Regions from separate parts of the Homo sapiens genome. Here all the other regions are linked to region 2. The links are contacts of gene promoters, found by promoter capture Hi-C in blood cells and fetal thymus (Javierre and others, 2016). All regions are on one chromosome and are shown on one strand. The core of a region is centred on a gene start or on the middle of the fragment in contact, and the rest is flanking DNA. Distances in the headings are between cores, read along the strand shown. Region 1 holds the start of SLC41A3 (solute carrier family 41 member 3). Region 2 holds the start of ABTB1 (ankyrin repeat and BTB domain containing 1). Region 3 holds the start of HMCES (5-hydroxymethylcytosine binding, ES cell specific).

The links. Contacts are between HindIII fragments. The CHiCAGO score rates a contact against its expected background, and 5 or more counts as called.
Region 1: a fragment that was not itself captured here is called in contact with the fragment with the promoter of ABTB1 in region 2 in 1 of 17 cell types (non-activated CD4 T cells); the score reaches 5.1 in non-activated CD4 T cells.
Region 3: a contact is called between the fragment with the promoter of HMCES here and the fragment with the promoter of ABTB1 in region 2, in 1 of 17 cell types (neutrophils). The highest score is 6.7, in neutrophils.

What each region holds. Positions count from the first base shown.
Region 1 is chr3:126,082,080-126,085,826 of GRCh38, reverse strand. SLC41A3 (solute carrier family 41 member 3) reads left to right here and starts at 1,703. Exons shown (of 11, transcript NM_017836.4): 1 at 1,703-1,734. It overlaps ALDH1L1-AS1 (ALDH1L1 antisense RNA 1), which reads right to left and starts at 1,612. Exons shown (of 8, transcript NR_190231.1): 1 at 1,375-1,612. RefSeq lists silencers at 1,356-1,905, 1,946-2,055. The HindIII fragment of the contact is 7,725 bases long and covers 1-3,747 here.
Region 2 is chr3:127,671,011-127,674,764 of GRCh38, reverse strand. It overlaps ABTB1 (ankyrin repeat and BTB domain containing 1), which reads right to left and starts at 1,813. Exons shown (of 12, transcript NM_172027.3): 1 at 1,684-1,813; 2 at 312-374; 3 at 165-220. The coding sequence starts at 1,739. It overlaps PODXL2 (podocalyxin like 2), which reads right to left. Exons shown (of 8, transcript NM_015720.4): 7 at 3,152-3,331; 8 at 1,963-2,497. The coding sequence ends at 2,285. RefSeq lists silencers at 1,442-1,701, 1,842-2,441, 2,452-2,531. The HindIII fragment of the contact is 11,080 bases long and covers 1-3,754 here.
Region 3 is chr3:129,276,934-129,280,273 of GRCh38, reverse strand. It overlaps HMCES (5-hydroxymethylcytosine binding, ES cell specific), which reads right to left and starts at 1,404. Exons shown (of 7, transcript NM_020187.3): 1 at 1,369-1,404; 2 at 359-564. The coding sequence starts at 541. It overlaps COPG1 (coat protein complex I subunit gamma 1), which reads right to left. Exons shown (of 24, transcript NM_016128.4): 24 at 2,501-2,980. The coding sequence ends at 2,850. RefSeq lists an enhancer at 250-379 and silencers at 800-1,189, 1,200-1,549. The HindIII fragment of the contact is 5,702 bases long and covers 1-1,630 here.

The DNA of each region.
Region 1 (3,747 bases), core at 916-3,415, 1.6 Mb after region 2:
CCCCAGACACTCCCACAAGGCCCCCAGTCACCCAGGAGCACGTTTTGGCTGGGAGGAGCAAATGCCTTTCTCTTTGGAGTTGAGAAAACTCAGTCTCTCATTTACCTATGAAAACAACAGTTCAATTCCTCACACAAATGCGCAGACAAGCCGAATCAAGATTAATTTTGGGAGAAAAAGCAATAAAGAAAACCCTTTAGAATGTGTCTCTGAACTAGAATTAGAATCCTTAAACAACAACTTCCTAGGAGAAAAACCAGCTCACACTAAACGAAGGACTGTCAACCAAAGGGCGATCTGGGGCTCAGGAGAACTTAACCAGTTCCATCGGGGGAGAAGCTAGAAGTCTGGGAGGCTTCAATGGGCCCCACTGGTATCTTCGCTCCGAGTTCAGGCAACTCCTTTGGGGTCCTGAGTCTTCTCTGAGGCCCCACGCTGGGTGCCAAATTATTGTGGAAGAGTCAAACTCTGTAAAATATTTGAAGAGATTTATTGTGAGCCAAATATGAGTGACCACAGCCAGTGACACAGCCTTCAGGAGGTCTTGAGAACATGTGCCCAAGGAGGTCGGGGTGCAGCTTGGTTTAATACATTCTGAGGAGGCATGAGACTTCAAGTTAAGTTCATTTAAGAAATAAATTTGTTTGATCCAGAAAGGCAGGAAAACTCAAAGAGGGGGAGGGTGGTTCTAGGGTATAGGTCAACTTAAACATTTTCTGGTTGACAATTGGTTGAGTTTGTCCAAAGACCTGGGATTAAAGAAAGGAATGTCTGGGTTAAGAGGTTGTGGAGACCAATGTGTTTTATCACGCAGATGAAGTATTCGGATAGGGTAGCAGGCTTCAGAGAGAAGAGGCTGTAAAATGTTTCTTATCAGACTTAAAGTCTGTGTTGATGTTAATGCAGGAGAGGGATAATGAGGCATGTTCGGCCTCCACTTCCCCTTATGGCCTGAACCAGTTTTTCAGGTTAAATTCTAAAAGTCCTGGCTGAGGAAGAAGTCCATTCGGATGATTTGGTGGTTGGGAACGGGGAGGTGCCTTATCATTTATTTTTTGGTTTAAAATATAATGATATATTTTACCAAGTCTTGTGAACCATCAGGCCTCCCTCAGGCCCGGACTGGGAATTGCCAATTTCGTTAGGTGTGACCGTAATACTATGAGAATGTTTAAAAAAATAGGCCTTACTGATTAAACATACTCGAGTATTTAAAGGAGAATTTATCCACTGGGATGCTTTAAAATTACTCTGGGAAAAAAGGGAAAACGAAAGGCATGTGTGGGGTGAAGCACAGACTTGTCGTTGTTGTTTTTAAAGCAAAAGGCGGGTCCCAAGGGAAGTTGGCTGTCGGTGGGTTCCCGTTCTCCGTACCTTTCTACCTTGACAGCTCCATAATAAAACCTGCAGCCGCATAGGCGCCTCTCCCGTAGCGCTCCCGCGGGGGCGCCAGTGGGGCCCCAGCTGCGAGGAGGGCCCGGGCTCGCGAGACTCGGTCCCCCACTTCCGTCCCCGCGATCCCCGGCTCCCAGCCCCCCGGGCCCCCGGCGGGGCTCTGCGCTGCCGGAGCTTGGGCGTCTGCTGCTGTCCCGGAGCGCCAAGTCGTCCGAGGTCCGGCCGCCCGGCCGGGGCGGGGCCAGGGAGGCCCGGCCTTCCCGCTTCCTGCCTGAGCCGCAGGCCCGCCCCTGCGTCCTCCGCCCGCCTCTTTCCCGCCGCCGCCTGGGAGGGGACCCGGTAAGCGCGGCCCTGTTCCGGGCGGGGTTGGGGCGGAAGGTGGGGTCAGCTGGGGCCCAAGGGGGGTCGGGGAGGCGCGCGGGAGAGGGCGCCCGGGAGTGGGTGCGCGGGAGGCGAGTGAGCCGGGCGCCGGGCCCTGGGGGCTCGGCGGGAGGGGGAGTCAGGTGGGGACCGGGATTTGGGGGACTCGGTGGGGGAAAGGCGCGCGGGAGATGAGGTAAACACGAGGGGTCGGAGGGGCGGCCTGGGGCGGGGTGGGGCCATGCCTGGGGTAGGCCACGCCTCGGGGAGGCCGGGAGAGAACCCAGGCGCTGGGGGTCGCGGGGGAGCCGGCCGGTCCTACCCTTAGGTGTCTGAGGCCGCTCCCCACACCGCTGCGGTGTGCATTCAGCGGCCCTGTCTCCTCCTTCCTGGCCTGCTCAGGGCACGGCTCCTGGTTGGATGTCACACGCGTGACTCCTGCAGCGCCCGCGCGCAGGGACCCCTCGCTGCCTCAGCCAGACCTCCCGCCAGCCTCTACCACAGGCTCAGCCCACTGTCCTGGGTGGGCTCGGTGCAAACCTCTGGTGAAGAAAACCTCCTGGGGGTGCCCAGCCGGGAGTCTGTCTCAGAGTCCCACACTCTCTCCATCCAGGAGAGCCGGTGGGATAGGTCTCTTTAAAATCCCGTTATTTATTTGTTTATTTTTTCCTCTTTCTTCCAGTTTTTTCCATATGACTTTAGTGATCAAATCCCACTTTTTTTTAGAAGGCTTTTTTTACACCAGTGGTTTTCAAACTGTGGTCCCAGGACCAGCAGCACTGCCTTTCCTGAGATCTGCTAGAAATGCGGGTTCCCCAGCCCCACCCTGACCTTCTAAATCCTAAACCTTGGGGGTGGGTCCCCATACTTGTCTTTAGCAGGTCCTCCTCGTGGTTCTGACCATTGATCTGAAACCTTAGGGCTTTGAGGAGTCTGAACTGGGGTTGAGGATGGGCCAGGTGCCCTGTGATGATAATGCATGACTCCATTTAATCTTCACAGCCCTACACAGTAGGTAGTATTACCCCATTTCACAGATTAGGCAACAGAGGTACAGAAAGTTTAATTTTTCCAAGGTCACAGACCTAGAAAGGGGAGGAGCTGGGATTCCAACCTTGGGTTCCGGCTCCAGAACATTCCCACTGAGGCGAGGTCCCCTGTGAAGGTGGGGAGGGGTGAAGCCCAGAGGTCCTGGCGGCCTCCCTGCCAGGCAGAAACCATTAGTTCCAGAATCACGACCAGCCAGGTGCGTGGTCAGCAGTGGCCCTGCCTGCCTGCCTTTGGGCGAGCCCTGGTCTGTGTGAGCTGCTGGGTCCAGGTCCCCGGGCAGGATGTGTTCGCACTGGGGTGCTGACGGGGCGCCTAGAGGCCTGGGTCCAAGGCCAACCTCACAGGGTGACACAGGGATGCTTCTGGGTGACAGAGTGTCCGTTTCCTCCTCAGTCTGATGGGGGCGGATACCCCCCAACCCCATGCTGGCAGCTGGGAGGGTGGGCAGCCTCACAGACTCAGGCGTGGCTCTGAACTGTGGCCCCAGGTGGTCCACAACCTGTCCTGCCCAGCCTAGCCCCTTTCAAGGCACAAGGGTCTCTGACCACTGCCCCATAGCAGGGTTTCTCGGCCTCCACACTACTGACATTTGGGGTGGGGCAGTTCTTTGTTTTGGGGGGCTGTCCTGTATCACCCCCTGTCGGGACAACCAAAACCATGTGCAGACATTGCCCAATGTCCTCTGTGGGGACCTTGGAGGCAATGCCTCCACTGGCATCTTCTGGCATCTTGGCTCCTCCCTGGGGCTCTGGGATTAGAGGTTTCCTGGCCCACAGCCCACTTTCCCACAGGAGCCTCCTCCAGCCTGTGCTTGGTTGTTCATCTGCACGAGCTGTCAGTGACACAGGGACATTGGAGCATGTTCTCCTTGCAAACACTCCAACATTCAGGTGGAGCTGAGGGGCCTTTGGCCATGTCCACAGCTGGGAGATCCCCCACCCT
Region 2 (3,754 bases), core at 564-3,063:
AGTAGCAATAATAGTACTTGCTGATTCGACTGGGTGGTAAGAGAGGAATCGTGGTGCTTTGCAAATGTGTATCAAGGCCTTTGAATGCACGCACGCATGCATGCACCCACACGCACACATGCATGCACCCACGCACACCCGTGAGCCGGGCTCCCTGCTCTCACCATTGGCCAGAAGGTAGAGTACCAGCTCCTCGTGCCCACACAAGCAGGCATAGTACCTGAAGGGAGGAAGGAAGTACAGGAGGCAGTCCTCAGTGCTGAAGGGGTGCACCAACCCCCACCCTCCCCACCCCTCTCTCCAGCACTCACAAGGGGGTGCTGTCCCACTTGTCCCGCACATTCACCTCCACGTCTCGCTGCTCCAGCAGGTACCTGGGCAGGAAGGAGGTCAGAGCCTGGGTCAGGACGGGTTCATGGTCTGAGAAAGAAGGCCCGTGGAAAGGAACGGAGAGAAAACATCCCTTTTGGTATGGGGAAGCCTCCCCCAGGTGAGGGCAGGTGACAGGCAGACCAGAGCAGGAGAGGCACTCAAGGCAAAGTGCAGGCAAGGATGTGGAGGTGGGGTCGAACAGGCAGACACTGTGTGCTATCAGTGCTGGGGGACGATGGGCTACAGGGACAGAAGCCAGAGCCAGTGCCGAGGCTGGACCTTTGGCCTTTCAGCGTTTGGGAGAGGAGGTGATGGAGCCTTCACTCCCACCAGAGCTCTCTACTGCAGGAAGAAGCTGGCCCTGTTAGAAGCAGGGAGCCCGGGAAAAAGCTGCTGCAGGCCTCCTGATGGTGTGGAGGGCACACAATTCTAGGAGGCAGGAGTCGCGGGATACAGCAACTGATGGGATGCGGAAGGTGAGCGAGGGGAGTCGCCAATGCTAATGCAGCCCCACTGAGGCGGGGGCAGCCCAAAGGAGGCCTCCAGGCTGCACCTGGAAGTGCTGTGAACCCACTCAGCGTTGACACTATGCACTAACTCTTGAGTGGCACGGGATGTCAGGGAGCGGCCCAGGGAGGCTACGGGAGTACAGCAGCCCGGCGCCAGCCCAGGGGAGGTGGAAGCAGTCAGTCAGCACCAGGTCAAGGGGGAGGAAGGGCCAAGAAAAAAGGAGGTCAAACGGGATAGTGGAAGCCCAAGGAGGGGAAGGGCCCCAGAACCCAACTGGGCACCCCTTCCCTCCGCGTCCGGCCCATGGAGGGGGCATCTCAGCGCCAGATTCACTTTAGCTGCGTCAGGAGTTTCCGAATCCTCAGGGACCGGAGGCCGATTATGGGCTCTAGGTGTTCCCCGCGCCAGGTCCAGAGAGCACGAGAGAAAGGGGCCACGTCTGGAGTCCCAGGCCTATACCCGCGCCCTGCGCCCGGGGGGTCTGACGTCCGGGCCCTACCAGGGCGAACAGTGGCCCGCCTTCTCTCCGCCCACTTCTGCGCCTTCGGGCCTCCGCTGAGCAGTCCCTTCTTACAGGAAGCCCTCCGGGGGTCAATGGCCATCAGTGTCCCCGCCCCAGCGCGCTTCCGCTGGGGGGCTGCGGCGGGGGTCCGGGTGGTCTGCCCCGCGGGGGCGCTCCGAGGGCTGTGACCCGGCAGAGGCGCCCGCCTCTCCGCGGCCGCCCAGCCGCCCGTCCCAGGGCCCGAGGCGTTCCGAGGGCGGCCACCTCCCGCACCCTCCCCGGGACTGCGAGGTCCTCACCGCACTCGGCCCACATCCCCCTTCCTGCAGCTGGCGAACAGGTCGCTGGTGTCCATGGCGCGGAGGATGGTACCCGAGCCGAACGACCTCGGGCGGCGAAGCCGCGCACCCGGCGGATGTAAACACGCTCAGCCCCGCCCCGCCCCGCTCTGCAGCGGCGTCCGGAGGACCCGCCCGCCCCGGCCTCCCCGCCCCGCGGCCCCGCCCCTGCCCCGGGGTGCCCCGCCCGCCCCGCCCCGCCCCAACCCCGGAAATAAGAATGAGTCAAGAAGGCAGACGCGCTGGGCCCGGCGTGGTCTCCGGGCGGGTTTAATTGAGTCCCGGGGCGCAGGAAGCGCCGCCCGCCGCCCGCGGGGCCGGGGTTCAGGGGCGGGAAAGCGGGGCCAAGGCGGGCTTTGAGGCCTGCCCCTCGGGCGGGAGTGAGGGAGTTGGTCCGAAGCCGCCGTGTGAAGTCGGGGGAAGCGGGAAGGAGCCCGCGCCGAGGGCCAGGCCGCGGGGGCGGCCCGGGTAGGCGCGGGGCTGGTGCGGGCTCCGGGCCGTCCGTTTCGGGGTCCACCTCGCTTGGTCCTGGCGGCCCACTCGGCCTGCGCCTCGGCTGCGCTCACAGGTGCGTGTCCTCCTCGAACACGTCCGAGTCCTCGGGGTCCCGCTTGCCCCCCATGAGCGCCCCCCAGCTCCCCGGGCCGTTGAGGGCCCCGCCGCCGTTCAGGCTGGGGTGCTTCTCCTGCATCTCCGACTGGCTGTCGCTGGCCACGTCCAGCGTGGGGTTGTCGTGGCAGCCGTTCTCCACGAAGCGCAGCTCCTCGCCGTGCGACTGAGGCGGGGTGGGGAGAGGCCATGGGCGAGCGAGCCAGCCCCCGGACAGCGCCAGGCCCGCGGCCGTCTGTGCAACCCCACCCAGGGGGTTCCCGCGGCACCCTCCACAGGTGCCAGATCCTTCTTTTCTGTTGCTGCAGCTCAACTCCTTTCTCAAAATAAACCTACTAGTCGTTGGCACTACAAAGCCCCGTGGCCTCCCTGACGTCATCGATCCCCCAACAGCCCCCTAAGAAGACTCCACTTGCGAGGTGGGCAGGGAGCATCGCTAGGGCTCTGCTCGCTTCCTCCTGGGGAGGCCTCTAGGCTGCTGGAGCCTCTCCTTGATCCTTGGGCACCACCAACGCAGGGCCTGCCTCTGGTGAGGTATTCAGGTGCTCAGGCCCTGCAGTGCCTGCGCCGGAAAGGGGCTGGTGGTGCCAGGGAGGGGCCCCCTGGTGGGGCTAGCAGCCCCCTCACTCCCTGCACCTCTGGCACCTGTCCTGGGGCTGGTGCCCTGCAGAGCAGTCAGCAGTGCTAGGCTGACCAGCTGCTTCACCCACGGGACCCTGTGCGCCCAGGAGAGTCACTGCCTCCCCTTGCAGATGAGGACACCTATCGATGGGCACTCTCCTCTCAACTGGCCCCCAGCCCCACCTGTCCCCACACTCACCACGTGCTTGAGCTTGGGCAGCCGGCGCTGCCAGCAGTTGTAGAGCAGGCCAAGCGCAATGATGATGATGCAGATGGCCCCAATGACCACCAGCACCACGAAGAGCGTGCCGTAGTCGCTGCGCACCTGGCTGGCCCGCGCCTGGCAGCTGCTGGTTGTGGAATAGTTCTGGATGCCAATCTAGGGGTGGGAGGGGCCAGTTTCCTCAGCTGAGGTCCTGGGGTGCCATGGCTCCTCTGGGGTGGTTGCATTGGGCTCGGGTGGGGATGGGGGAGCAGGCTTAGAAGGTGCTGGCACTCCCGGCTCCTGAAGTTCCCTGGCGCCTGGGCTTGCCTCTACCCCATGCCCATCCCGTTTGCCTCAGTACACCTGGAGGCCTCTCCACCCCATGCCCATGTTCCCAGCCTCCTTCACATCCCACCATAGCTTCTGCCCCAGCCGCTGAGTCTGAGCTCACTGTGGCCCTAGGCCTCCAGTGAGAGTGGACCCATGCTGCTGGACACCATCCAACTAGAGAGAGTGCCCACACCTATCCTAACTAGTTAGAGAGACAGGAGATGTGAGCCCCCCACACATCCTCCACCATACAACCGCTTCCACCTC
Region 3 (3,340 bases), core at 155-2,654, 1.6 Mb before region 2:
GCACCTGGCCTTAAATTTTTTTATTATATTTTTAAGATACTCCAATGACCCTGATGATCAGTGAAAGCTGCTATTTTAAAACACAAAGCTCATATAAATTTGGCATATATTAAGGCTAGTATGCCATGTATAGCAAAGGCATTTAAATTGAGCCTGAAAAATACGTCTTTATCAGTGTTAGAAGCCACTGATAAAACTTCTTTCATGAGGCCAAGAGAGGTTCTCAACTGGAAGTCAGAATATATCAGTAAAGGCTGGTTTTTAATGTCATCCCAAGAGGCTGAGCACACACCAAACCAAATAGGAGATGACCATCACGAGGCTGGGCGAGGGGCTAGCATAGTGCAATGCTGGTTACCTTCTCAAAGTGCAGTCGAGACAGAAGCACTGGGCTGTTGGATTGAGGACTCTTGTTGTAAGAGGGGCAGTACTTATCAGGGTCCCTCCACTCCGGGAGCCGCTGCTGGCCCCGCCGATCCTGGTAGGCGCAAGCTCTCGTGAGAACATCTCTAGGTAAGTGACAGGATGTTCGCCCACACATTCTTCAACACCGCCCCTCGCAACCTTTAAATTACAAAACGTAAGGAAAAGGCTTACGTATCTCAAATATTAGGTCTTATTCCTTGAGTCCCCGCCTTCTCTTTCCGTTCCCACAGGGCCGTGCCCCTCCGTGACCACCGTCTAAAGTCTTCCCCAAAAAGTCCCACAAAGACAAGGATGTGCCCGTTTGCTTCGCTCCCTGAGCCCACTGCCCAGCTCCGTGCAGGGCACTGAGGCAAGTCCCGAGAGGAGCTCTGCAAATGCCTGCCTGAGCGCAGGAAGAGCCGCAGCGGAGGGGGCTTCACAGTCCAGCGAAGCAGGGCAAGCGCAGCTAGCTGGGGTCGCCTCCTCCGGGTGACTTGGTGCCCCCAACTCCCCGTCCTTCCCCCCAGTCCCCGCTGGGGTCAGCGACCCACGCCGGCCAGCAACCGGTCACCTCGAGGGCGGCCACTGGACGGCCCGGGGCCGGGGTGCAGAATCCCCGCCTCCCGCCCGCTAGTCCGCAGCGTCCCCGGGCCCGACCTGCGAACCTGTGGGCCGCGGATCCCGCTCCGGACTCTGCTCCCCGGAGCGGGGGCCGGTGCTCGGGGAGCAGGTGGCCCCCAGCCACCGGCCGCGATCCCTCGCCCCTCCCCGCGTCGCCTCCGCTCCGCTCCGGCCCTCAGACTCCGCCGCCCCGCGTCGCCTCACTTCGGCCCAGGCCGCCCTCTCCGCGTCGCCTCGCGTCCGCTCGGGCCTCTGCTCCCCTCTGTCAGCTCGCGTCGCTTCCTTTCCCCTCCCCTCCCCTCGCCATACCCCGACCGCCCGCGTCGCCTCCCCTCCCCTCACCTCGCCCCGGCAGCGCGCGTCACCTCCCTCGACTCTCCTCACCCCCGCTCCGCTCCGCTTTGGCCACCCGCGTCACCGCCCCTCACGTCAGCCCCGCCTCAGCCCGCGCTCCCGGCGCCAGGCCCCGCCCCCAAGGGCCCTTGGTTCCCGCGGTGCCCTCGGGCCCCGGAGGCGGCGTCTTCTCCCCTCCGGTTTGGGATGAATTTTCTCCCGTTTCCCCAGGAGACAGTGACTGCCTTGGGAGACATATCGATCCCAAGCTTCTCGGGACTCCACTTTCCTCCATATTGGCCGTTCCCTGGCGGGGTTAACCTTCCTCCCCGCCCCCAGCGTGTTTCAGGGCTGGCAGGGAAGGTTCCCGCCGCGCTGAGTCTAGGGCACAGGGTCATGGAAGGCGGGAAACCAGGAAACTCCACTCCTTACTTCACAGTCCTGCCAGCTGCCTCACAGTGCGAGGCAAAAATGGAGGAACACTGAAGAAATGAAAGTCAGAAGAACTTCCAGGAATCGCGCACTTCGCCCTCAAACATTGGTGGGCACTAGAATAAGCCTTTCCTGCCCCAGCCCCTCAGCTGAATCTCTAAGGGTGAGGCCCAGATTTTTAAAACAGCCCTTTCGGGTGTACTTTGGCCTCAAAGTTGGTAAAATAGCCTGGCTTGAGTTTAAAAGCCTGCTCCCCTTGGGACCTAAACCGGAGATTCTTCATCTGCAACCAACAGAGAATGCTCTAGAGGGCTGTTCGCCTATGCTGATTCGCTGAACTGAACAGGGAGCAGAAACCCCAGGGCACACTCCATGTAAGACCAGATGCTGGAACGATCAGACACAGGACCCAAGCCCTTTGGAGCCTCCATTTATCGACTATCAAAGGAGGATGCGTTGTGAAGAAGCACGAACGGGAGGGAGTGTGAACTCTGCCTGTTAGCTGATTCACTCAACCACCCTCTACCGCTCCCACCCCTGGGCTTGGTGCTGGGACAGCGATGACGGGGAGAGGGTCCTGCCTCACAGGACTACAACAGCCAAAGGGCTGTGGGTGCAAGGGGGACAGGGCAGGTGTTCTGCCTCTTTAGGGGAGGCCTTGAAGGGGAAGGTGGAGCCCTGAAGCATGAGTCTGCAGAAGTAGCAATCATTCAATAAATACATGCTGATTTATTACAGGGATAAGATGGTTTCTTGGGGGATAGATTCAAGAGGAGTTGAGAATGTTTTATTCATTTACAATGTCCCTTTCCTGGAAGGGTGGACAGCAAGATTTAGGACAAGCTAAAATCATCCCCTATTTAAAAAAAAAAAAAAAAAAAGTCACCAGCAAGTAGTCCCGGGTGGGAGGTGGGAGCAGAATAAAAAAAAATCTGCAATGATTCCTAATTGTTTTTCAATACAGAAGCTTGGGAAGGGGTTTCTGCCAGTTTCATGAGGAAGGCACAACTTCCAGGTAGTGTTGGGGAAGGGTATGAGGTCCTATGCAGGCTGGCCTCTTATCCCACAGATGCCAAGATGATGTCTACTGGCAGCTCCTCCAAACTTCTGGCTGTCACCTGCATTGTCACTGTGTCCAAAAGCAGCAGCCGGGAGCGCACCAGGATGTCATGACCACCCCGGAACACACCTAGAAGGGAAGAGAGAAGTACAGATATATACAGCAGAAGGGACTGTACAGGGCAGGCTAAGGATGGCATTTGCAGCAACCCATGAAGGCAGCTCTGGTGTAGTGAAACGGGCAGGAGAGCTGGGCTGAAATCCCTGAGTGAGGGATTTCACTGTGAAAGTCACTGTCTCTCAGCCAGGCGCGGTGGCTCACGCTTGTAATTCCAGCACTTTGGGAGGCTGAGGTGGGCAGATCATGAGGTCAGGAATTCGAGACCAGCCTGGCCAACACAGTGAAACCCCATCTCTACTAAAAATACGAAAATTAGCTGGGCATGGTGGTGGACGCCTGTAATCCCAGCTACTCGGGAGGCTGAAGCAG